6 separate regions of the Homo sapiens genome follow, and regions 1, 2, 3, 4 and 6 are each linked to region 5. Evidence: promoter capture Hi-C in human tissues and cell types (Jung and others, 2019). All regions are on one chromosome and are shown on one strand. The core of a region is centred on a gene start or on the middle of the fragment in contact, and the rest is flanking DNA. Distances in the headings are between cores, read along the strand shown. Region 1 has its middle 32 kb from the start of BSDC1. Region 2 has its middle 10 kb from the start of BSDC1. Region 3 overlaps TMEM39B (transmembrane protein 39B). Region 4 has its middle 11 kb from the start of TMEM39B. Region 5 holds the start of TMEM234 (transmembrane protein 234). Region 6 overlaps KHDRBS1 (KH RNA binding domain containing, signal transduction associated 1).

What was found. Contacts are between HindIII fragments. The study calls those that stand out against the background at their distance.
Region 1: a contact is called between a fragment that was not itself captured here and the fragment with the promoter of TMEM234 in region 5, in 1 of the 25 tissues and cell types used here (spleen).
Region 2: a fragment that was not itself captured here is called in contact with the fragment with the promoter of TMEM234 in region 5 in 1 of the 25 tissues and cell types used here (hippocampus).
Region 3: a fragment that was not itself captured here is called in contact with the fragment with the promoter of TMEM234 in region 5 in 1 of the 25 tissues and cell types used here (spleen).
Region 4: a contact is called between a fragment that was not itself captured here and the fragment with the promoter of TMEM234 in region 5, in 2 of the 25 tissues and cell types used here (aorta and spleen).
Region 6: a contact is called between a fragment that was not itself captured here and the fragment with the promoter of TMEM234 in region 5, in 1 of the 25 tissues and cell types used here (spleen).

The regions. Positions count from the first base shown.
Region 1 is chr1:32,424,127-32,427,943 of GRCh38, forward strand. It overlaps the pseudogene LRRC37A12P. Among named protein-coding and RNA genes, the nearest start is that of BSDC1, 32 kb to the left of the region's middle. The HindIII fragment of the contact is 5,832 bases long and covers 1-3,817 here.
Region 2 is chr1:32,402,563-32,406,770 of GRCh38, forward strand. It overlaps the pseudogene GAPDHP20. Among named protein-coding and RNA genes, the nearest start is that of BSDC1, 10 kb to the left of the region's middle. RefSeq lists an enhancer at 3,564-3,643. The HindIII fragment of the contact is 3,514 bases long and covers 298-3,811 here.
Region 3 is chr1:32,078,126-32,082,445 of GRCh38, forward strand. The region is part of intron 5 of TMEM39B (transmembrane protein 39B); the gene reads left to right. Among named protein-coding and RNA genes, the nearest start is that of MIR5585, 6.7 kb to the right of the region's middle. The HindIII fragment of the contact is 3,244 bases long and covers 187-3,430 here.
Region 4 is chr1:32,059,715-32,063,572 of GRCh38, forward strand. It overlaps a transcript of KHDRBS1 not described here. Among named protein-coding and RNA genes, the nearest start is that of TMEM39B, 11 kb to the right of the region's middle. RefSeq lists enhancers at 1,127-1,739, 2,754-3,048 and a silencer at 3,694-3,858. The HindIII fragment of the contact is 6,151 bases long and covers 1-3,858 here.
Region 5 is chr1:32,221,103-32,225,160 of GRCh38, forward strand. It overlaps TMEM234 (transmembrane protein 234), which reads right to left and starts at 1,251. Exons shown (of 5, transcript NM_019118.5): 1 at 1,205-1,251; 2 at 765-916; 3 at 29-95. The coding sequence starts at 1,220. It overlaps EIF3I (eukaryotic translation initiation factor 3 subunit I), which reads left to right and starts at 1,305. Exons shown (of 11, transcript NM_003757.4): 1 at 1,305-1,342; 2 at 1,436-1,528; 3 at 2,932-3,019; 4 at 3,308-3,373. The coding sequence starts at 1,340. RefSeq lists enhancers at 524-1,723, 1,000-1,633. The HindIII fragment of the contact is 14,812 bases long and covers 1-4,058 here.
Region 6 is chr1:32,029,806-32,034,104 of GRCh38, forward strand. It overlaps KHDRBS1 (KH RNA binding domain containing, signal transduction associated 1), which reads left to right. Exons shown (of 9, transcript NM_006559.3): 2 at 493-617; 3 at 1,719-1,835; 4 at 3,383-3,529. Among named protein-coding and RNA genes, the nearest start is that of KHDRBS1, 18 kb to the left of the region's middle. The HindIII fragment of the contact is 5,442 bases long and covers 1-4,299 here.

The sequences.
Region 1 (3,817 bases), core at 1,302-3,801, 200 kb after region 5:
TTGAAGACAGATCTAGAGTTGAAAATACCATCTCATCATTCAATGAACTTAAAGTCTGAGGAGAGCTGAGCTGGAGGCTGAGTTGTGGGCTTTTGATGGACTGGAGGAAGTTCATCATTTTCAGGGGTATTTAGCTGCTAAATTATAATCTCTTGCTGGTCTTTCAAATGTTGAAACTGCTCAGGGGACATTAAGGACTGAGCTGGGACCCCCTGTTGTGTTAAAATTTCAACCTGATTAGTGAACTCTGGAGTCATGGAAACCATGTGATCCGCAGGTTTAACAGTGACATTTGCAATGTTGGAGGCTGAACTTGATCATGACTTAGAGGAGAAACTATCACCTCATGATGCTCTGGACATTGAGCTACAACTTCATTAGGGGGCTCTGAAGGCTGGGATGGGGCTTCTTGATGGGTTGGAGAAGACTCAACCTCCTCAGGGATCTGTGGATGCTCAGCTGCAGCCTCCTGCTGGGTTGGAAAGGGTTTCTCATCCTTAATAGTTTCTGGAGATTGAAGTCTACCGTTTAACTGGTAAAGGTCCAGCCTCTTCTGATGACTCTGGAGGCAGAGATGGGCCCCCATGCTGGGTGGCGGAAGGTTCTGCATCATTAATTGGCCCTGAGAGCTGAGCTGTAGCCTCCTGGTGGATTAGAGAAGTTTCCACCTCTTCAGTAGGCTACGTTGCTATGGTGAGCTGCATATCTGGAGACTTAACAGTGACACTGGGCAAATCTGAATGCTGAGCTTGAGGTAAAACTGTTAATTCATGATGTTTGGAGGCTGAGCTGGGATCTCCTCCTGGGCGGGAGAAGGTTCAACCTCTCCAGAAGACTCAGAAGGCTGAGCTGGCTGCTCCTGCTCTCTGGAGAAGGTTCAGGCTCCACAGGAGGACCTGGAGGCTCAGCTGGGGCCTCCTTTTGGGTTGCAGAAGGTTCTACCTCCTCTGGAGACTGGGTTGGGGCCTGCTGCTGGGCTGGAGAAGATTCAGTCTCCTTGGTAGGCTCTGAGGTTATAATAAGCTCTGCATCCACAGGTTTAACTGTAACAGTGGGCAAGTTATAATGAGCTTGATCCTCACCAAGAGGGTGAAGTGTCACCTCATGATTCGGTGGAGTTTGAGCTGCACTCTCCACAGAGGACTCTGGAGGCTGAGCTGGGGCCTCCTGCTGGGTCTGAGAAAGTTCACCTCCCCAGGAAATTCAGAATGCTGAGCTGGCTTCTCCTGCTCACTGGGGGAAAGTTCAGCCTCCACAGGAGGACCTGGAGGCTCAGCTGGGGTCCCTTGGTGGGTTGCAGAAGGTTTCGTCTCCTCAGGGTGCTCTGGTGTCTGAGCTGGGTCCTCTAATTGGGTTGAGGAAGAGTCCACCTCCTCAGGGTGCTCTGGAGGCTGAGCTGCGGCCTGTTCCTGGCTTGACGTAAGTTCCTTACCTGGCTCTGGAGTTACTGTAAGCTCCACATCCACAGGTTTGACTGTGACACTGGGCAAGTGTGAGTGCTGAGCTTCACTCCAACTTTTTTTTTTTTCTTTTTGAGACGGAGTCTTGCTCTGTTGCCCAGGCTGGAGTGCAGTGGCGTGATCTCAGCTCACTGCAACCTCTGCCTCCCGGGTTCAAGCAATTCTCCTGCCTCAGACTCCTAAGTAGCTGGGATTACAGGCGCCTGCCGCCACGCCTGGCTAATTTTGTATTTTTAGTAGAGATGGGGTTTCACCATACTGGCCAGGCTGGTCTCTTGGCCAGGTTGGTCTCGAACTCCTGACCTTGTGATCTGCCCACCTCAGCCTCCCATGCTGGGATTACGGGCAGGAGCCATCGCGCCTAGCTGCTTCACTCCAACTTCTAAATAGAACATTTACCTCATGATGTATTGATGGCTGAGCTACAATCTCTTCGGAGGCAGGTAGCTGCTATGCTGGGGCCTCCTGCTCTGTTGAAGTAGAATAGACCCTCTCAAGGGACTGTGAAGGCAGAGCTGGGGCCTCCTGCTGGGTTGAAGAAGGTTCTACCTCCCCAGGGAGCTGTGGAAGCTGCTCTGGGGCTTCTTGCTGGAGTGAAGAGGACTGGATCTCTTCAAGGTCTCTGGATTTTGAGTTTCGGGCTCTAGGTGAAATTGAAAAAGTCCAACTTGCTCAGGGGGCCCTGGAGGCTCGTCTGAGTTCACCTGGAGTTCTGGGGACAGGGTGCCTGGATACAGTATATCCATACTTCCATCTAAATATCCTGCAAAGTTTGTTTCTGACGCTGAGGTTTTTATACAAATCGGTGTGGAGTTCCAGCCACAACCTTAGCAAGCCTCCGATGCTAAGCTAGACCTTTCTTCAGGTTCTTGGGCCAAACAATAAGCTTCGTTGCTTGTGAATTCTATCCAGAGGTAGAACAAGTATTTCATATGCCTGATGATCTGCAGCCTGATCTAGATTTGCAGTTTTAACCTTACTTTTGAGGCAAAGAGTCCGAGCTAGGGCCTGGTTCTGATCCCAGTCCAGCATTGGGACCACCTCTGGGAGCCTTTCTTGCCGAGTCAGCTTGTCATTCAGATCCTGGTGTGCAGCAACGAACTGCTCTGGCCACGGGGGCAGCTCTCCAGCTGTATCCGTGTCCAGGAATGGAACCAAAGTCTTGGTGAAAGTCTCAGTCGATTCCTGAGGCAGAGCTGACATCTGGGAGGAAGCAGAGGACCCCAGGTATTCAAAGGCCCCGGGTCTGCGTGGTGGGGGGAGGGTAAGCGCATGGGGGCGATTCGGGTGGGAGATCAGAGGAGCGGGAAAACAAGGGCTCATCGGCCACAGGGCATCGGAGATCAGCTGCAGCGGGTCCTGGACCCACTCCAGAGGCTGAGCCGCCTGGACGAGTAGCCACAATAGTTGCTACGTGAGGAGGGGGTCGTGGGAGCCAGAGGCACAGCCGGGACGTGACATGCGCTGGCGCCGCGCACAGAGCTGGAGCCATTCTGGCAGCCCCAAGACGCTAGCGCCCCTAGCAACCGTGGGCACCGCCCCCTCCTTTATAAGCAAATTTTATTAGGTGAGGTCTAGATCCGCTCCGCGTCACCAGGGCGATCTCATCCCACAATCCTGCCCAAGCCTCCCTTCTCGCCCCGCCCCGCAGGAACACTCCTCCCCTCCCCTAAGCGAGGAAGGATTTGGGCAGCAGACCTTGGTGGTCCCAAGACTCCAGCAGCCTATTGTGGTGGTGGTGGTGGTGGTGGTGGTGGTGGTGGTGTAGGGTTGGGTGGGGTGGGGTGCAGGCGCGGCAGAGCTTCCCAAGGAAGTCACGGGACCTCACCTCGGGATATTCAGAGGTGCTAGTCCAGTTCTGGCAGCCTGAATTCTTTCTCCTCCAAGCTGAAATCCGAGAGATAATCTTCCTCCTCTTGGCCAATACGGCTTCCAGGGAAAACAACTGACCTGCAAAATCTGCGCCAGTTAGGGTGGCAGGCAGAACACACATTATGGTCATTTATTCCAAAATGTTGCCATTTTCGCTAAACTTTCGATACCCTTTGTTGCATGTTTGATAATTAATTCACCGCCCTATTAGGTACGGGCTGCCAGGCAACAAGCGAGGACTGCAAATTTTCTGTAGGACAGGTTTTGGGGTGTGGGCAATTCAGTCTGAGAGAGAAGGCCTTAATGCGAGTGAACAGCCCTTTGCACTAGCCTGGGAGGAGGCCAAAATGTCATCCTGCCTTGACTTAACACAGCCTTTACCCTAGAAGCTACAGCGCCACTCTCAGAGGTCTACCCTATGTGCACACATGGAGAAGACGCTTAGGTTGTTAAAGTCAGCATGTTAAATAATTTCCTGAAATGCG
Region 2 (4,208 bases), core at 805-3,304, 180 kb after region 5:
TCTGGGTGGCAATATTGGCACCAACTGTGGCCATGAGTCCCTCCATGATGCCAAAGTTGTCATGGATGACCTTGGGCAGGGCAGCTAAACAATTGGCAGTACAGGAAGCGTTGCTGACAATCACAAGGTTGTTTTCATACTTCTCAAGGTTCACGGCCATCACAAACATGGGGGCATCAACAGAGAGAGCAGATATGACCCTTTTGGTTGCACCCTCTAAGTGAGCCCCAGCCTTCTCCAAGGCAGTGAAGATGCCAGTGGACTTCATAACATAATCAGCGTCAGGACCAGCCCATTTGATTTTGATGGGATTTTGTTCCTGGAAGATGGTGATGGGATTTCCATTGGTGACAAACTTCTTGTTCTTAGCCTTGATGGTGCCTTGGAACTTGTCATGGGTGGAGTCATACTAGAACATGTAGACCATGGAGTTGACCTGAATGAAGTGGTCATAGATGGTGACACTATCCACTTTGCTAGAGTTAAAAGCAGCCCTGGTAAACAGGCTTCCAATATGGTCCCATCTATTTACTCTGGCCTTCACTCACACCATGATGTCTCAAGGCTGCTGCTGGTGCTACACGAGATGTGTCTGTATGTTGTATGGCAAGAGCAGAGAGCTCATCTGTGTTCTTGAAGTAACTTACATTTATTGTATCTATATGGTGGAAATACTATATAATAGTGTACTTTTTTTTTTTTTTGAGACGGAGTTTCACTTTTGTTGCCCAGGCTGGAGGGCAGTGGCACTATCTCGGTTCACTGCAACCTCTGCCTCCCGGGTTCAAGCGATTCTTTTGCCTCCCCCTCCCGAGTAGCTGGGGTTACAGGTGCATGCCACCATGCCTGGCTAATTTTTTTGTATTTTTAGTAGAGACAGAGTTTCACCATGTTGGTCAGGCTGGTCTTGAACTCCTGACCTCAGGTGATCCACCTGCCTCGGCCTCCCAAAGTGCTGGGATTACAGGCATGAGCCAGCATGCCCGGCCTAATAGGAGATATCTCTCCTCAACTCTGCATTCAGTGATTGATGTCACATTGGCACCTTAAAATTGATGAAGGTGGGAGTGTTTAATCATTAAAATCCACAAACAATACAAATCATGCCCCTTCTTCCGCCAAGCCAATTGTTAAACTTTTACCAGAATACACGGGTCCTGATTGTACTCCTAATGTCCTATGTGATTTTGAGCAAAGCCCTGTTCTCCCCAGACTCCCATATATTTACGTATCACTTTATAATTGACAAAAGGGGAGCATCCTTTGTGTGCTAGGCACTGTTGTCTCATAGAATTCTTAGAACAACCAAAGGGGTGGAATATTGTAGCCCAAAGAGCAAAGAAGAACTTTGTCTCCAGGGTGGCTCTGTTACCAGAGTTCCCAAAAGATGGCACTGTGGACTGGCTCAGAGGAAATATAGCAAAATATGTAATATATATTATATAGATTATATATATATATATTTTGAGATGGAGTTTTGCTCTTGTTGCCCAGGCTGGAGTGCAATGGCGCGATCTAGGCTCACTGCAAACTCTGCCTCCTGGGTTCAAGCGATTCTCCTGCCTCAGCCTCCTGAGTGGCTGGGATTACTCATCACATGCATCACATGGCATGTGCCATCACACCCGGCAATATATATATATTTTAAGACAGGGTCTCACTCTGTCTCCCAGGCTGAAGTGTAGTGGCACGATCTCGGCTCAATGCAACCTCTGCCTCCTGGGCTCAAGCCACCCTCCCACTTCAGCCTCCCAAGTAGCTGGGACCACAGGCACACGCCACCATCTGGCTAATTTTTGTATTTTTATAGATACAGGGTTTTGCCATGTTGCCTAGGCTGATCTTGAACTCCTGGGCTTAAGCAGTCCACCCGCCTCAGCCTCCCAAAGTGCTAAACTTACAGGCGTGAGCCACCGCATTCAGTCAATAATAATATTCTTCTGGGCACCTCCAGCATTGTTTTTGGGACTCACACACCATAAGCCTCCTTCTTGGCTATTTCTGGGAGTGGGGAAAGATTTAGCTCCCTCTGGCTTCTGTGTAAGGGAGGTGGGAGGTGGGAAGTGGAATATTCTTACTACAACAGTGAGGGTTTTTTCCCAAAAGGGAGACTGGGCTTGGATGCAGATAGCCCGAACATCAACTGTCCTGTTCCCCATTTGCTGCCAAACACATATACTCTGTGTTTTGAACTTAGACTTGCTTCCCAATTAGCATAAAGTAGCTACCACTTCTGTAATTAAAAACACTGTTTTAATTACTCTCCAAAGAAGGCATCCAAAGCCTTGACGACTGTCCTCCGGCTCTCAGAATTCCTGCTTAGGAATCTGCAATCCATCACTGAATGGTGAAGTTAATCTCCCTATAAAACCACCTAGAGACGATAGTGGCAGAAAGGGAGAAGAAAGAGAAGCAAAAGTATTTGAAATATGTAAATATCTACATCAAGGAAAGAAATTCAAGTAGAGACTATAATCCGCCCCCCCCCCATATAAAGCAGTCTAAGGCTGATCTTGTATTTATGACTTTCCTTCTTTACTATCTATTCTAGGTTCCATCTGCCTTCAGTCAGCAACAGATGTTCAAGTTATTTAGCCACAGGAGAGACCCACCCCTTCATTCCTGAGCTATCTGTGGCCTAGAAGATCCTTTTGTATAGAATTGCAGTAGTTTTGCCGTGACTTTGATCACAGAATATTGCAGTAGTTGTAGGATCCTTAGGAAATATAGCAAAGTCTATCACTAAACCTCCCTGCCTCCACTCAGTGGTAACAACCTATTTCCGCTTGGTAACTAGAGTATAAAATTCTAGAAAATGGCCGGGCGTGGTGGCTCACGCCTGTAATCCCAGCACTTTGGGAGGCCGAGGTGGGCGGATCGCGAGGTCAGGAGATCGAGACCATCCCGGCTAAAACGGTGAAACCCCGTCTCTACTAAAAATACAAAAAAATTAGCCGGGCGTAGTGGCGGGCGCCTATAGTCCCAGCTACTTGGGAGGCTGAGGCAGGAGAATGGCGTGAACCCGGGAGGCGGAGCTTGCAGTGAGCCGAGATCCCGCCACTGCACTCCAGCCTGGGCGACAGAGCGAGACTCCGTCTCAAAAAAAAAAAAAAAAAATTCTAGAAAATATCTTGATTTTTTTTTTTTTTTTGGCCTGTCTGTTCAGTGGCAGGAGATACTCAAAAAGGTTGAGTGGCAATTTCAACTTCCAATTTGTTGAAAATTTGTGTCACGTGATGGAGGCATTTCTCTCTTAGACACTAAAAGCTTTTAACATACCTCCCCTCCCTACAGTCATAGAGTCAAGAAGCAAATAACTTATGAGTGAGTCAAAAAGTTTCACTGTGGGCTGGGCTCAGTGGCTCACACCTGTAATCGCAGCACTTTGGGAGGCTGAGGCAGATGGATCGCTTGAGGCCAGGAGTTTGAGACTAGCCTGGGCAACATGGCAAAACCTTGTCTCTAAAAAATACCAAAAAAAAGTTAGCCAGGCATAGTGGCTCACACCTGTGGTGCTAGCTGAGGCAGGAGAATCAGTTGAGCCCGGGAAGTGAAGGTTGCAGTGAGCCAAGATTGCACCACTGCACTCTACCCTGGGTGACAGAGGGAGACCCTGTCTCCAAAAAAAAAAAAAAGTCTAAGTGTGAAAGAAACCACTCCTACACACAGCTCTTGGTTTCTGAACTATGTATCTGGCTAAGGAAGAAATGGTACACTGGTTCAGAGCATATACTGCATCCTTTTAACAGTGCTGTATCTCACAGGGTGCTATCTAACAGCTGGTAGATTACCTGGACCTTCAGTAGGTTTTGCCACCACTCTAGAAGGCTGGCTGATGGAGCTCAGGTTAGTGAATCCTCTGGTGTCTGCTCACTCTCACTTCTTTTCTTGTGAAGTGAATTTCATGGTCAGAAACAATATTGTGTGGGACACTAAGACTGTGTATTAAGTCCATAGATGGAGGTTCTGAGAGAAGAATGAGAAGCAGGGAAAGGAAATTCAAACCCAGAGTAAGCACTGTCACCGGTGAGACAAATTGTTCCTTCTTCACAAGGGACATGGTCCTATGTAATTGATCTGCCACCAGATAGTTGGTTTGTTCCCTCAAGGTATGACATCACATCAAGAGTCCAGGACTGTTTGCTCCTGTAGGCAAACAGGGCATCAGTAGGTCAGTAGTGGTGGTTGCCAGGACGGCCTTGGACAGG
Region 3 (4,320 bases), core at 559-3,058, 140 kb before region 5:
CCAAAAAGGCACTGGCATGGGAGCCCTGTCACACTTCCTTCAGTTATATCTACTTTTTAATTATAAGAGTGACATGTGGCCAGGCACAGTAGCACAAACCTGTAATCCCAGCACTTTGGAGGCCAAGACAGGCAGATTGCTTGAGTCCAGGGGTTTGAGACCAGCCTAGGCAACATGGCGAAATCCTGTCTACTAAAAACATAAAAAACTAGCCAGGTGTGGTGAGGCACGCCTATAGTCCCAGCTACTCAGGAAGCTGAGGTGGGAGAATCACCTGAGCTCAGGAGGTCGAGGCTGCAGTGAGCCGAAATTGTGCCACTGTACTCTAGCTTAAGCAACTGGAGTGAGGTCCTGTCTTTAAAAAAAAAAAACATTATAATGTCTTATAAAAACATTAAACTTTACAGAAGCTTTTAACATGGAAAAAGAAAGTCCCACATAGTCTTATTCCCCCAGAAATCCATTACTGGCAGCAATTTTCCCAAAATATTTTCTGTGCAAGTACACACACATGCAGTTTTTTTGTTTGTTTGTTCTTGAGACAGTCTGATGTCACCCGGGCTGGAGTGCAGTGGCACGATCTCGGCTCACTGCAACCTCTGCCTCCTGGATTCAAGCAATTTTCCTGCCTCAGCCTCCCAAGTAACTGGGATTACAGGTGCCCACCACCACGCCTGGCTACTTTTTGTATTTTTAGTAGAGTTGGGGTTTCATCATGTTGGCCAGGCTGGTCTCGAACTCCTGGCCTCAAGTGATCTGCCCACCTTGTCCTCCCAAAGTGCTGGGATTACAGATGTGAGCCACTGTGCCTGGCCACATGCAGTTTTTTAAAAAAGAAAAATGGTATTATGCTATGCATGATGTACAATTTACCACACTTTTCACTTAATCATATAACAGATATTTTTCTATGCCAATACATACGGGTCTGTCTCATTATTTTATTTTATTTTAGAGATGAGGGTCTTGCTGTATTGCCCAGGCTGGAGTGCAGTGGCTATTCACAGGTCTGTTCCCACTACTGATCAACACAGGAGTTTTAACCTGTTCTATTTCTTTCTTTTTTTTTTTTTTTTTGAGATGGAGTCTCGCTCTGTCGCCCAGGCTGGAGTGCAGTGGCACAATCTTGGCTCACTGCAAGCTCCACCTCCCGGGTTCACACCATTCTCCTGCCTCAGCCTCCTGAGTAGCTGGGACTACAGGCGCCTGCCACCACACCTAGCTAATTTTTTGTATTTTTAGTAGAGACAGGGTTTCACCGTGTTAGCCAGGATGGTCTCAATCTCCTGACCTCATGATCTGCCCGCCTCGGCCTCCCAAAGTGCTGGGATTACAGGCATGAGCCACCGCGCCTGGCCAACCTGTTCTATTTCTAACCTGGACCAGTTCATCCCCTCCTTAGGCAATTATGTGGTCCCCCACTCCCAGGAGTTCACCATATGGATGCTGAACTTCTATGCAGGCACCTCATCGGCATAGCACATTATAGCATAGAATTCCTCGGCTCAAGCAATCCTCCCACCTCAGCCTTCTGAGTAGCTGGGACTATGGGCATGCGCCATCATGACCTGCTGCCTCATTTTTTTAATGGCCTCGCAGTATTCTATGTTATAGAATTTTCACAATTTATTTGTCTTCTATTGGCAATTTTTTTTTTTTTCTGAGATGGAGTCTTGCTCTGTTGCCCAGGCTGGAGTGCAGTGGTGCAATCTTGGCTCACTGCAGCCTCCAACTCCCGGGTTCAAGCAGTTCTCCTGCCTCAGCCTCCCAAGTAGCTGAGACTACAGGCATGCTCCACCAAGCCCAGCTAATTTTGTATTTCTAGTAGAGATGGGGTTTCTCCATGTTGGTCAGGCTGGTCTCAGGTGATCCGCCTGCCTTGGCCTCCCAAAGTGCTGGGATTACAGACATGAGCCACCATGCTCGGCAATTTTTTGTATTCTTAGTAGAGATGGGGTTTCACCGTGTTAGCCAGGATGGTCTCGATCTCCTGACCTCGTGATCCGCCCACCTTGGTCTCCCAAAGTGCTGTGATTACAGGCGTGAGCCACCGTGCCTGGCCTACTGGCAAACTTTTAAGTTGTTTCTAGCTTTTCCTTATTCATAACAATGAATAATTGCATATGTGTCCAGTATCTCTGCACAGTAGATTCCCAGAAGAATTAACTACACCAAAAGATGGATTCATTTAGATTTTTCATAGTTATTAACAAATTGTCCTTCGAAAGGGTTGCACTGGTTAGAACTTAAGAGTTGCCTGTCGGACGCGGTGGCTCATGCCTGTAATCCCAGCACTTTGGGAGGCTGAGGCGGGTGGATCACGAGGTCAGGAGATTGAGACCATCCTGGCTAACACAGTGAAACCCCGTCTCTACTAAAAAAATACAAAAAACTAGCCGGGCATGGTGGATGGCACTTGCAGTCCCAGCTACTCGGGAGGCTGAGGCAGGAGAATGGTGTGAACCTGGGAGGCGGAGCTTGCAGTGAGCCAAGATCGCACCACTGCACCACTGCACTCCAGCCTGGGCAACAGAGTGAGACTCTGTCTCAAAAAAAAAAAAAAAAAAAAGAGTTGCCTTAATTTGACAGTTTATGGTTACTACCTGGTGAATCTTTTCTTCATGGATGCAGATAACACCCAATGTCATATTATGCTTTATTTTTCATTATTTAATTTAAAAATGTTTATTGACCAAATATAAACATATTGTAAAAAATTAAATCCAATAGTGCTGAAAAGCTTATAATGAAAACCATTGCTGGGCACGGTAGCTCATGCCTGTGATCTCAGTGACTTGGGAGGCTGAGGTGAGAAGATTGCTTTAGCTGGTGGATTTGAGGCCGAAGTGAGCCATGATCACACCAGTGCACTTCAGCGTGGACAACAGAGTGAGACCCTGTCTCTAAAAATAAATAAATAAATAAATAGAAAAACATTAGTCTCCAATCCCGCCTCCAGATTTTTAGTCCCACTCTTCATAGAAAAACATTAGTCTCCAATCCCGCCTCCAGATTTTTAGTCCCACTCTTCAATAGCAGTCTCTTTTACTTTCTGGGTTTTTTTATTTGTTTGTTTGTTTGTTTGTTTGTTTACAGACAGAGTCTGTAAACCTATTATCCAGTTCTAAAGTGGCACTGCACTCCAGCCTGAGTGACAAGACCCTGAGTCAGGGTCTGGCTCTGTTGCCCAGGCTGGAGTGCAGTGGTGCAATCTCGGCTCACTGCAACCTCTGCCTCCCAGGCTCAAGCCGTCCTCCCACTTCAGCCTTCTGAGTAGTTGGAACTACAGGCATCAGCCACTGTACCTAGCCTGCTTATTCTTTTTAAAAATTTATTTATTGGCCAAGCGTGGTGGCTCACGCTTGTAATCCCAGCACTTTGGAAGGCCAAGGTGAATGGATCACTTGAGGTCAGGAGTTCAAGACCAGCCTGGCCATCATGGTGAAACCCTTTCTCTACTAAAAATACAAAAATTAGCCAGGTGTGGTGGTGCACGCCTGTAGTCCCAGCTACTTGGGAGGCTGAGGCAGGAGAATTGCTTGAAACTGGGAGGTGGAGGTTGCAGCGAGCTGAGTTTGCACCACTGCACTCCAGCCTGGGCAATAGAGTGAGACTCTGTCTCAAAAAAAAGAAAATTATTGATTTATTTTAGAATTGAATAAGAGGTTTACATAGTTAAAATTCAGAAGGTTTAAAAGAGTATACCATGAAAAAGTCTCCCCTTGACTGCTGCCTCCCAGCCACCCAGTTTCCTTTCCAAGAGGTAATTATCAATGTTTTTGGTTTCTTGTATATCCTGGAAACAAATGTTCTACGCATATACAAACATACCACATACACACATATGCAAGTATATTGATTCCCTGCAATGACAGATGATTTAGCTCACGATCCCATCCTTACTGTTCCCAGTAATTGATAGCTTTTAATATTTTTAAGTTTCTGTTGGTTATTTTCATCAATAGTATAAGTATCCCTATACTTTTTTTTTCCATCAACAATAGTATCTTGAATACTTTTTATGTAAGACAAGAATATTAGGCACCCTATCCAACCACTTTTCCTCCCCTCTTCCTCTTTTCACTTCCTGGCAGCTGTATTTTTACTTTTATATCGTCAAGCTTGACATTCACATTCTCCTATGTAACCACATTTAAGCCTTCCATTCTTTGTCTAAGCCTAATTCTGAAAATTAAAAACCAGTATGTGGCTTTGATATAATTATGTGTATGAAAATATCATTCACTCCAGGGCCCAGTAGTATGCATACATGACATTTCTTCTCTGTAGTTACAGAGTTACAGTCTTGGACCTCTTTAT
Region 4 (3,858 bases), core at 420-2,919, 160 kb before region 5:
TTACCAATAATAGTGATAATAAGATGCCTATTTTCTGATTTCCATTCTTCAAAAGACTTTAAAGATTTTTGTTCATCTTTTTCACATTTCTAGGACAGCAGAAAGCATTTTTCCCTTTGTTTATAGAGGCTTCAAAGCTTGGATAGGCCCCCCAAAGGTTTTGTTGATTCTTCCCTGGATCCACTCAGCTGAGATATGGCCAAGGACAGGAGATATTGAGCGTGAGACTGCATTTTCATTACCAGACAGACAGTAAAAAGAGAATTCATAGGCTGTGGACTTCTGTTTTCTACCCATCTGTGTACCCAAGAAACTTGTGTACTGAATGAAACAAGTAGAGTTGTGCTGTGGGATGGGGCAATTGTGAGGGAAGCATCCTGGTCAGGTGGGAGGCTGGGAAGCCCCCTAATAGGGAGCTTTCTTAATTTTCTACCTTGTGTCTTTGCAGCTATCAGAGGACTCCTGAAACCTGGAGAGCTACCTGCTGTATAAAGGCTGGCCTGAGGGCATTTGCTGAACACAGAGAAACCCAGGAGAGGAGATCAGCAGTTTTCTTTCACTCTACTTGATCTGTCAGATTTACCCACAGAAAGCCAGTCAGGATCCCTTAAGAGTCTTTAGGCCCAGAATGGAGTCCTCAGGGCTGCAGGGGACTGTGGTGCTAACAATTAAACTGTTCAAGACTTTAAAGAGTTGAAGGGGACTAATGGGTATCCCTAGCATGGCCTCCTAGATGGGAATTAACTGGCAACTCCTACTGTGCCATTCCCAGTATGTGTGCTTCCCTTTAGCCTCCCATAGAATTGGCTGAAACACCCTACCACCGTTTTCTGTTTCCCCACTACCACACCTGTGTTATGGGTGTCAGCCTGTGAGTCCTTGAACCCTTCCAGAGGGCTCCCAAGGGAGGGTGATCACTGCCCTTCCATAAAAGGCTGAGGAAAGCCAAGTGAGAAGATTCAATTAATTTGGGCAAGTTATTTAACATCTGAACCTGTTTTTCTCTTCATTGTTTATTACTTACCTTGTCCAAAAAGGTCATAAAGGGTAGGGCTTTTTCTGTTCCACCTCTGTACTATATTTCTCCCCAACAAATATCTGCCCCTGAGGACCTCAATAAAGGTTTGGTCAAGTGATGAATGGTCCCACTCTGGTAGCTTCTATCAGCTTTGGGAGAGAGCCAAAGCCCCCTTGTTTAGCTCTCACTTTCCTTCCAGCTATACTAGGCCAGCTATTTGTTCTGCCATTTTCCCTTGAAGGATTGGAAAGTCAGCCTTTGATAGGCTTCTGGTTTCCTCTGGCCTATTTCTAGGTTGATTTATACTCAGCTTCCTGAGAGGCTAGGGACCTCTGATACTGTACTCTTCCCTAATGCCTTCTGGTTATTTATCCTAACAAAGGAACAAGGGGAAGGACTGAGTTTAGGGAGAGAATAGAGCCTATCTGCATTTTAACTGTGCCTGGGGCATTCTAGTGAGCTTGGATTCATCCTTAGCAGGAACAGAAGTATAATGGAAAGGGATTCCTTAAAGTCAGTTGATTTACACTGGGCAAGCTATTTAATCTCTGAGCCTGTTTCTGTCATCATTGTTGATTACTGTAAATAACAGCTAATAATTTACTGATTTCTTAGTATGTACCAGGAAAATAAGAAAAACTGAGACTCAAGGAGGATAAAAAATTTGCCTATGGTTAGAAAAAGACTTCATGGTCTATACTATCAGACTTCATGGCCTATTCTTTTGACCTGTTTGTACCTCTCACAGCCACAAGTGCTTTGAAATATTAAAGCATTATGTTTGCATGAGGGGTTCGTCTAGGATGACAGATCATCTAGGTTTACCCAAGAGAGAGTTTCTGGGATATGGGACTATCCAGTGCTAAAACTAGAAAAGTCACAGGCCAGCCTCGATGAGTTTGTCACCCTGTTGTTTACATTGGATGCTCTGAGTCCAGGGCTGACAAGGGAGGAGTTTGGGGTGGGGAATTAGGGAATCAGATGGCATCTTCATCATATATAAATGGAGGCACAGAACCTGAGTCACTGACTGAGGAGCTGGTGTTAGGTTCCTAGATCGCTATACCTTCAGTCTGCTAGGATTTCTACTCGGGAGCCACAGAATTTTATAGGAAAGCTTACAGGGCTGAAGCCAAACAGATCTGAATTCAAATCCCAGCTCATCATTTGCATATTTCCAGAGCTTGTTTTAATTTTTTTTTTTTTTTTTTTTTTTTTTTTTGCTTTAAGAAGAGCTGTAGGGCCTGTTTACTCCATCAAAGTAGGATAAGAATTGCTACCTACTGGCCAGGTGCGGTGGCTCACGCCTGTAATCCTAGCACTTTGGGAGGCCGAGGTGGGCAGATCACGAGGTCAGGAGATCGAGACCATCCTGGCTAACATGGTGAAACCGCATCTCTACTAAAAATACAAAAAATTAGCCGGGCGTGGTGGTGGGCGCCCCTAGTCCCAGCTACTCAGGAGGCCGAGGCAGGAGAATGGTGTGAACCCAGGAGGCGGAGCTTGCAGTGAGCCGAGATCGCGCCATTGCACTCCAGCCTGGACCACAGAGCAAGACTCCATCTCAAAAAAAAAAAAAAAGAATTGCTACGTACTGAATGGGATCTGAGAAGCAAATGATGTGTTTGAAATGCCTGGCATGGGGTCTAGACACAATACTGCTCAACCTTTAAGTTTCCTTCCTCCTTTTTTCCCAGGCTTGTGGGTCTTATCCAGTCCTGTCACCTGTCACAGTCTTCGTCCTCCTCCTGTTACCACTTATGGCCCTTGGGATCTTCCTTTGAGAGCCCTGACTTGTTGGGCTTGGCCCACCCACCCAGCTGCCCTGTATGTCAGTCACCTCCCCTGTAAGCTGAGAAGGGATGACATCAGCCTTTCCCTCTTCCCCCCTCCCAAGCCTCTAGGCTGTTTTGAGCCATAAATATTTTAGCTGGGCCTTTCTCTGGCTGTTGCCAAGGTGATGGGCTCTCAGGGGACTGGGGTGGGAGTGTGGAGGTAGGGCTGGCAGCCTGGGGCCTGGCAGCAGAGCTGGCCCTGGAGGAGTGGGTATGAGGCCTGGCCAAGAGCCAATGCTTGCAGCTTGACAAGCAGGCTGTTGCTCTACCTGCTTGCCTTCCCTTTCCTCAGCCCCTCAGAGCCACTCCTATTGCCTACAGGCCCACTTCTGCCCTTGGCTGCTGCTCTTCGACCTCAGGTAAATTGTTCAATGTCCCTAGGCTTTCATTTTAACATTCGTAACAAAAATCCAAGAAAGCAAAGGAGGTTTTGTAAAAATGCTGTAAGATGCCAGGCTAGTGAATCATGATTGGAGAAGCTAGGTCCCACTGCCCTTTCTGATAGACCTAAAGGCTGAGGTCTTGATGCCATGTGGATGTCACCCTAAAGACAGCTCTTAGATATGCCACTCTCTCCCCTTCCTCCTTCCCCACGATGCACCCCCTGCTCTTTAGAAATTTTCTAAAGTTCCCGGGCCAGCTAGATGACCTGGCCTGCCATGGGGTAGCCCAGGAAGGAGTTGGGCCTGGTGGCTTATGAGCAGAGTTGAGAGTCTCTTTTGCTTGAGATACAGAAATTCAGGTCCCTAAACTAGATCTGGCCCTCATCCTTACCCACCTCACCTCTTTCCTGGTGACCTTACATCTGGCTAGCTGCTAAATTCTAGGTTGTGGCAGCATGCCCCACCCCCTCTCCTTGGGATGGGTCTAAGAAGGCCCATAGAGGAGGCACTGGGATCCATTCCCTACCCTACCATTGAGAATCGCTGCAGTTGTATCCAGGATTCCACATCTTATGCCCAGCTTAATTTCTCTGTTGTACTTGGAGTTGAGATTCCTTTGTAT
Region 5 (4,058 bases), core at 1-2,500:
AGCAGAACAGTTCCAAGCCAGGACCCACCTGTCGATGCCAAGGTGAGGTAATAGAGAAGGGATCCACACTGGTTGAGGAGAAAGGGCATCAGGTACTGGAAAGAGGAGAAACCTGCAGTCAGTGTGATGGCCTGACTGAGCAGCACTGCCTTCTTTGAGCTCCTAGCGAATGTCTTTCCTTGGAGGGAGGCAGGGTTATAAGGACCCAGAGAACACTAATCCCTCTAAGGAGGATCCTTCCAGGGCAAAGAGGGAAACAGACTGAAGTCTGTGCCTTTGCTCAAACTACCCTCTCCCTCACCTCTGCTAGTTCCCATCCTGCAAGGCCTTGAAGCCAATGTCAGCCCCTCCAGGAAGCCTTCCCCAAGTCCTCCAGCTCCAGCCTTCCTCCTCTGAACTCCTCCCCTGCAGGGCCAATTTGAGCCCCAAGCCCTCCCTCTGGAAAGGCTCACAAATGTTGCCTTATGTAACTGAAGGAATCACAATAAAATGTGAATAATGGCAGCCATAGATTGAGCACTTACTATGTTCTAGGCCTAATGCTAAGTGCTCTACGTATCTCACCTAATTCCTGCAACTGACCTATCAGATGGTTATTATTATAATCGCCATTTACAGATGATGAAACTGAGGCTCAAGGACAACTGACTTTTCCGAGAATTTCTAGTGAGTAAGTGGTGGGGCTGACCCAGACCTGTTTGACTCCAAAGACCAAATTCTTGGCGGCAACTCCACCGAGAGAGGGGCCTTTCACAGAGACGCACCTCAGTATTCAAGAAGAGGGTCTTCATCTCCTGTAGCAACTGCTGGGCCCAGGTCGGCTCATGAACCCGCTGCAGGCCGGCGGAGGCCCGCTTCAGCAGCGGCTGCGTGCCACCCCACAGAGCGGCCACCAGCACCAGAGCCAACACCTGCCCTGAATGCAGACGAGTGAGTCACCCTGACCCCCACCCCAAACGGCCGCCCACCCCGCCCTCTCCTGGCCTTCTAGCCCCAGCTAGCCGCCCCCACTTCCCTCCTTCGCTCTCTTCGCCTCGGCTGCGACTGGCGGCTAAGGCAGGCCCAGGGAAGCTAGGGAGATGAATCCAGGAGTCCGGCCTCTGGGGTTGTAGCAGGGGTCGGGGTTAGAGGGTGGATGTGGAGCAGGAAATGAATTCGAGGCGAGGGTCGGGAAATCCATGGAAGGGCGGGGCCGGCTACCTACCCAGAGACGCCGCCATGGCAACGCCGCTGTCTTCTACTTCCGGGAACGAAGGGGCGGAGACCCATAATCCGGAAGTGACCTCGAAACCTTTTCCGGTCTTACTCACGTTGCGGCCTTCCTCGCGTCACAGCCGGGATGGTGAGTTTCAGAGTTAGGGGTATTGCAGTGGGGGTCCTGGGCTGAGGCTGGGGCCCAATTCCGAGCACTGACGTTACTGTCTTGTCCCCACAGAAGCCGATCCTACTGCAGGGCCATGAGCGGTCCATTACGCAGATTAAGTATAACCGCGAAGGAGACCTCCTCTTTACTGTGGCCAAGGACCCTGTGAGTGTTGGCTGGAGGGGGTCCGGGAGGGGCGGGATCCTTCTGCCAGGACGATGGGTGGACACGCCAGTTTTGCCGTTAGCGGGGAACCAAAGAGCAGCCCATTGTGAGAAGTAGGGAGAGGCCATGCCGGGGGTAGGTTGGCGAAAGTATTCTACCGGGAAAGGTGGGGAAGAACTCTATTGGCCGAGTGCGGTGGCTCACGCCTGTAATCCCAGCACTTTGAGAGGCCGAGGTGGGAGGGTCGCTTGAGCCCAGGAGTTGGAGACCAGCCTGAGCAACGTAGTAAGACCCATCTCTACACACAAAAAAATTAGCCTGACATGGTGGCCTCGCGCCTGTGGTCTCAGCTACTTCGGAGTCTGAAACGAGAGGATCGCTTGAGCGCGGTGAGCTGAGATCGTGCCACTGCACTCCAAGAAAAGCAAGAGACCACTGTGGAAAGGGGATAAAGATGAGGGTCAGCTTGCCCAGAGAACGGGATGCGACCTTTAGGGATAATCTAATCTTTCTACCAGGATAGGTGCAGGCTGTGTTATTCAGACACAGGGAACTTAATGAGGGTGTCTCTAGTCTCATTTTAAGTCAATCCCATCCTGCTACTCAATGCCAAACAATCCCTCATGATACTGCCTTTTGAGGCACCTGGCCATTTTATTTTATTTTTTCTTGAGACGGAGTCTCGCTCTGTCGCCTAGGCTGGAGTGCAGTGGCGCGATCTCGACTCACTGCAACCTCTGCCTCCCAGGTTCAAGCGATTCTCCTGCCTCAACCTCCCTAGTAGCTGGGACTACAGGCTCGTGCCACCATGCCCAGCTAATTTTTTGTATCTTTAGTAGAGATGGGGTTTCACCATGTTGGACAGGCTTGTCTTGAACTCCTGACCTCAGGTGATCCGCCTGCCTCGGCCTCCCAAAGTGCTAGGATTACAGGCATGAGTCACCACACCCGGCCTGGCCATTTTCAAGATGAGAAAACTGAAGTTCAGAGGAGAGAAGCACTGTATTTGAGATCATATAGTGAGACAGTGGCAGAGCAGGCACCAGAACCCAGACTTCCTTACTACCAGCTGCTCCCACTTGGATAAGACATCAGAGATACTGTTTTTCTGGACTGGAGCTCAACTTGGCCTTTTATTCTTTGGAGCCGTTGGGAGTCCCAGGAGAGCTGGAGCTAACAAATGAGGATGCCTTTACAAGCCGCCTGACTCCTCTGTTGCTTCCCTTCAGGAAGGGAGGAGAATCCAGGAGTTGGTCTTTTTACCAGCTCCCTGCTGTTTCCCAAGAAATAAACAGAAGAGGGCAGAATCAGCCTTGCTACAGGCTGCTGAGGGTTCCTGGGGCAAAATAGGAAGCCATTGCTCTTACTGGGATGTGTACTATCCTGTGGTTTGACTTTTCCAGATCGTCAATGTATGGTACTCTGTGAATGGTGAGAGGCTGGGCACCTACATGGGCCATACCGGAGCTGTGTGGTGTGTGGACGCTGACTGTATCCTTATTTTGGGTCTGAGTCCGTGTTGCTAGGGTCTGTCAGCGATGGAGAGGCTGAGTTGGGAGTTGGGAGTTGGGGGTGCTGTTGAGGGCCTAGAGAACGATACCTCCTACTCCCTGGTCTCTTCACTGACTGAGGAAACATTCAGGACAAATTCCAGTTCTGGATAAGGAGGTAAGAGGGGTAGAAAGGCTCTTTGGGGCTGAACAGGGAGATGATTCACTTGGCATCCCAAGAGGACAAGGGCTCGGGTGAACTTCGTCATATTTCTTAACAACTCTTCAGGGGACACCAAGCATGTCCTCACTGGCTCAGCTGACAACAGCTGTCGTCTCTGGGACTGTGAAACAGGTAAGCTGGGTTCATTCACCTTTTTAGCAAATATTGAGGACCTACAGTGTACCTGTTTGAGTAAACAGGTCCTAGGAAAATAGAGATGAAATCCATAGATAGTTTCCAGTCTAGGGAATAAGAGACAAGAAAGATAGATGAGAAAATACACGCCATGGTAGAGGAAGCATAGATTAAGTTTTCTTTTTTTTTTTTTTTTTCTTTTTCTTATTTTGGAGACAGAGTCTCACTGTCACCCAGGCTGGAGAGCAATGGCACTATCTCGGCTCACTGCAACCTCTGTCTCCCGGGTTCAAGGGATTCTCCTGTCTCAGCCAGCCCCAGTAGCTGGGATTATAGGCGCACGCCACCATGCTTGGCTGATTTTTTTTTTTGAGACAGATTCTCTCGCTGTGTCACCCAGGCTGGAGTGCAGTGGCACAATCTTGGCTTACTGCAACCTCCGCCTCCCAGGTTCAAGTGATTCTCCTGCCTCAGCCTCCCAAATAGCTGGGATTACAGACATGCGCCATCACACCTGGCTAATTTTTGTATTTTTAGTAGAGACAGGGTTTCACCATGTTGGCCAGACTGGTCTCAAACTCCAGACCTCAGGTAATCCACCCACCTCGGCCTTCCAAAGTGCTGGGATTACAGGCATGAGCCACTGCACCTGGCCACCAGCTAATTTTTGTATTTTTAGTAG
Region 6 (4,299 bases), core at 1,357-3,856, 190 kb before region 5:
GACTAGTGAGTAGCAGAGTAAGAATAAGGTCTTTCAGACTCTTAAGGACTAGTATCTAGAGTACTAATGTCACCGTGGAACTTTAATGGAACTATCCATTGTATATTTAGATTATTTACTTTTGTTTTTTTCAAGGTAAGATTATACTTTGTCTTGATGCAGATTTTGATTTTTTTGTTTGTTTCTTTATTCTCCTTTCCCCCATCTCACCCAATTAATTTTGTTAAATTGATTTAAGAAACATTTAAATGTCTCTGTTGTCATGGCTTCAGGTGAGGGTGGAAGAGTACACTTCTTTTATTAGAAGCAGGCTTTGGGCTTTCTAGTCAACTTCATATAGCTTTAGTGCTTTCAGCTAGTTTCTTTCTGAAATTGGCACATTTGTGTGAACTATTTGGTTTCACTATATGGTATTCCATGTTATTGCTTTAAGCAGACTTCAAAATTTGCATTTATTTACCAGGGCAAAAATAAATTGTTTTTCCTATTCAGAAATTGAGAAGATTCAGAAAGGAGACTCAAAAAAGGATGATGAGGAGAATTACTTGGATTTATTTTCTCATAAGAACATGAAACTGAAAGAGCGAGTGCTGATACCTGTCAAGCAGTATCCCAAGGTAAGGCAAAAAGTGCTTTGGATCTTTGAGTTATCTTTATAGTTATGAGAGAGTCATGGGCTATAATAAAGACTCCTGGGGATTGTGATGCTTTAGAAACTTAAGCCTGTGAAGCTTCTCTTTCATGCTTGTAGTACCTGTTACTGAGAGTTGAAATATCTAAGTTCTTAACTAATAACATAGCTATAGCCAGGAAGGAAATATAATCATCTTTTTATTATCAAAAAGTTTCTTTCTCAAATGATTGCTCAGGCTACAAGTTCAAAGAAAAAAAAATTAAAACCTGAAGAGTTGCTCTTTGTCAAAAGACTAACCTGAAATCTAAATAAAAGGAAATATAATATGAATCCTCAATTGGTTGAAGTTAATTTTATTTTCTTACTAAAAGTTTACTTTTAAGTAAATGCTTTTTTTCTTCCTTTTTTTTTTTTTAGGAAAGCATTTAGTTACATTTAGTTTATCCAGCGTGTTATCAAAGGGTGCTATATAGTCTCTTCTGTTCTGAGGTCACTGCCTTAAAAATGTTGATGTATGTTAAGTGCTGGGCCAGGCACAGTGGCTCATGCCTGTAATGCCAGCACTTTGGGAGGCCGATGCAGGCAGATTGCTTGAGCCCAGGAGTTCAAGACCAGCCTGAGCAACATAGCGAAACCCCATCTCTACAAAAAATACAAAAATTAGCCTGGTGTTGTGGTGTGCACCTGTACCCAGCTACTCTGGAGGCTGGGGCAGGAGGATCACTTGAGTCCAGAAAGTTGAGGCTGTGATGAGCCATGATTGTGTCACTACACTTTGGCCTGGGCAACAGAGTGAGAGCCTGTCTCAAAATAAAGTAAAAAATAAAATAGTAAAGGTCTTAATGTATTATGGAAGAGCACCAGAATACATCAGAAAAGCCAAATTCAGGTCTAGGAACTGCCACTTTCTAGTTTCATAACCTTAAGCTAATCACTTTATTAATATGGCTTCAGTGTCCTTCAGTAAAATGGGAATGGTAATACTCTACCTTTGCAGGGTTGTTTAAAATCAAGTGAGGTAATTTATGTGGAAATGTTTTTATATAGTAGCATGTATATTTAGAAATCCTCTATTTTCTGTCAGTTCAATTTTGTGGGGAAGATTCTTGGACCACAAGGGAATACAATCAAAAGACTGCAGGAAGAGACTGGTGCAAAGATCTCTGTATTGGGAAAGGGCTCAATGAGAGACAAAGCCAAGGTAAGCTCACATTAGTGAGGCAAGAGGACATCCTAATGCCTTCTACTTGCCCAGAATGCAGTATGGATGTCTTATAGAGGCGGCAAGAATTTTGTATGTGTACAGAATGTGGCTCCTTTAAGTTTGCACTGGATGCAAGAGATTATACACCAAGTTAATTTACTTGGCTTGGCAACCCTGGAAGAGCCTAGGTGTGCCCTGGTGATAGTTTTCTTTTGGACTTTTTGACTGTGTAGTAATGGAAACAGCAGTAGCATGTTGCGCATTGGTAGGATTGTCTGTGAAAACTTGAAAGGGGAACTGAATATACTAAAATTTAGTCTAAAGCAGACAAAAGACGCTAAAATGCAAATAGCACACCCCCTTTTTTGTAACCTGGAAAAGTGAGAACAATAATGTGAGAGCAGATGAGTTTGAGGATTAGTTGGTTTGTTTTATAGCCGGTTTGGAATGTGAGGCTCACTAAAAGAATGTATTCCAAAAGGAACCATGAGTAATCCTGACTACAGAATCTAATGCGTCTTTTTTTTCCCCATGCCATAGCCGCGTACGCTGTGTACTCTGTGACAAGAAACTTCTCACCAAAACAGAATAGTCTTAGCCTTCTGGGGTCACCTTATTTGATGAGATATTCCTGCTACAGTCCAAAAACCAATTCTTTCAACCCTCCTTTTATGTAGTCTAATGGACACATGTTTGTTTTCTCAGGTCATTTCTTGCTAGATGCATATAGTTACGGCTGAAGTGTGTTCTAACTAATGAGATTTACATGAGCTTTTCTTCCCTCTGTCCTGACTTCTTTCTTCCCCTACCACTCCCTAGACCATATAAGCAGATAAGCAGAGCTCGTGGTGATTAACAGCTCTACCTGTGATTTAAAAACAAATGCTTGGCAAACAGCTATTATCTGAATAGACTAGAATTAAGTTTTTCTTCTTTATGCTTTTAGTAGGAGCTCCAATGGATATCTCAGGGATTTAAGACAACAATTAACTGTAAGCAGCAGACCATGTGCAAGTTTAGCAGGCTGTGCAAATTACTGTTCTTGAGAGTTTGTTTTACTTTTTTTTTTTTTCTTGAGAGGGAGCCTTGCTCTATTGCCCAGGCTGGAGTGCAGTGGCTCACTGCAACCTCCACCTCACGGGTTCAAGCAATTCTCCTGCCTCAGCCTCCTGAGTAGCTGGGATTACAGGCGTGCGCCACCATGCCCGGCTAATTTTTGTATTTTTAGTAGAGACGGGGCTTCATCACATTGGTCAGACTGGTCTCGAACTCCTGACCTTGTGATCCTCCCGCGTCAGTCTCCCAAAGTCCTGGGATTATAGGCGTGAGCCACCGCGCCTGGCTGCTTGTTTTACTTTCTTAAACTTTACTGTTTTTCTTTTTTCTTTTTTCTTTTTTTGTTTAATTCTTCTCAGCTCATACCAATTAACTTTACTGTTTTTCATGGACATTAGGGGTATTTCTTGCTGTTCCTTTGGCTTAGAGGTAAAGGTGGTGTTTTCTCCCTAGTCCATGGTGTGACATTTCTCTGCATTTTTCCATAGGAGGAAGAGCTGCGCAAAGGTGGAGACCCCAAATATGCCCACTTGAATATGGATCTGCATGTCTTCATTGAAGTCTTTGGACCCCCATGTGAGGCTTATGCTCTTATGGCCCATGCCATGGAGGAAGTCAAGAAATTTCTAGTACCGGTAAGGAAATCCATATCCTGTGTCTTCTGAGCAAAAGAGAACTGGGATCTTATACTGTTGTGAAGGTAGGGGTTCTTAACTAAGGTCTCTGCATAACCTGTATGTATACCAAATTCTGCACTTATGTTCATTTTCCTTAGGTAGTTCGTTACTTGCACCTAGTTCTCAAAGCATTATGCTCCAAGGCCACTCTATCCCTCCTTGTCTAATGTGGTTTTCATTGTGTACCGGTATCTTGTCAGTATCTCGGGTCCACAGTGTGCCTGCATTCTGATATTTGGTTAACTAAGGTTTAACAGGGTCTTCACCTAGCTGAGTATTTTGGTAGTAGTGTGGAACAAGGAGATTGTGTTAGGAAAGTGACTAAGGTGGGTCTCTGCACTCAAGAAGTTCATGCTGTAGAGAGTAGAGACTAGCAGCAAGAAGCTTATAGCATCTAGTGTTATTGGGTTAAATTCTGACCTGAGCACACTCAGGGATTTCTTTCCTGGAGGAGTTTGCTGAGGACGAGTTTAGTTTGGAAGAGGTTGACTATTGATGTTTAACAGATAGGTGAGCAGCTTTTTTCAGACTATTACTGAGGACTAGATAGAGATGGGACAGGCCAGTTTATCTATCTTGCTTGTTACCACCTTTGAATACTTGGTTGGAATATTACTTTGAATAAATAGGAAATGGTACTATTTTTGCCTTTTAGCAAGGCCTGGTGGTTGTCAGAGTTAACATACTACTGTTGAATATTTAATAACAAGGATGAATCTGGAGACTTA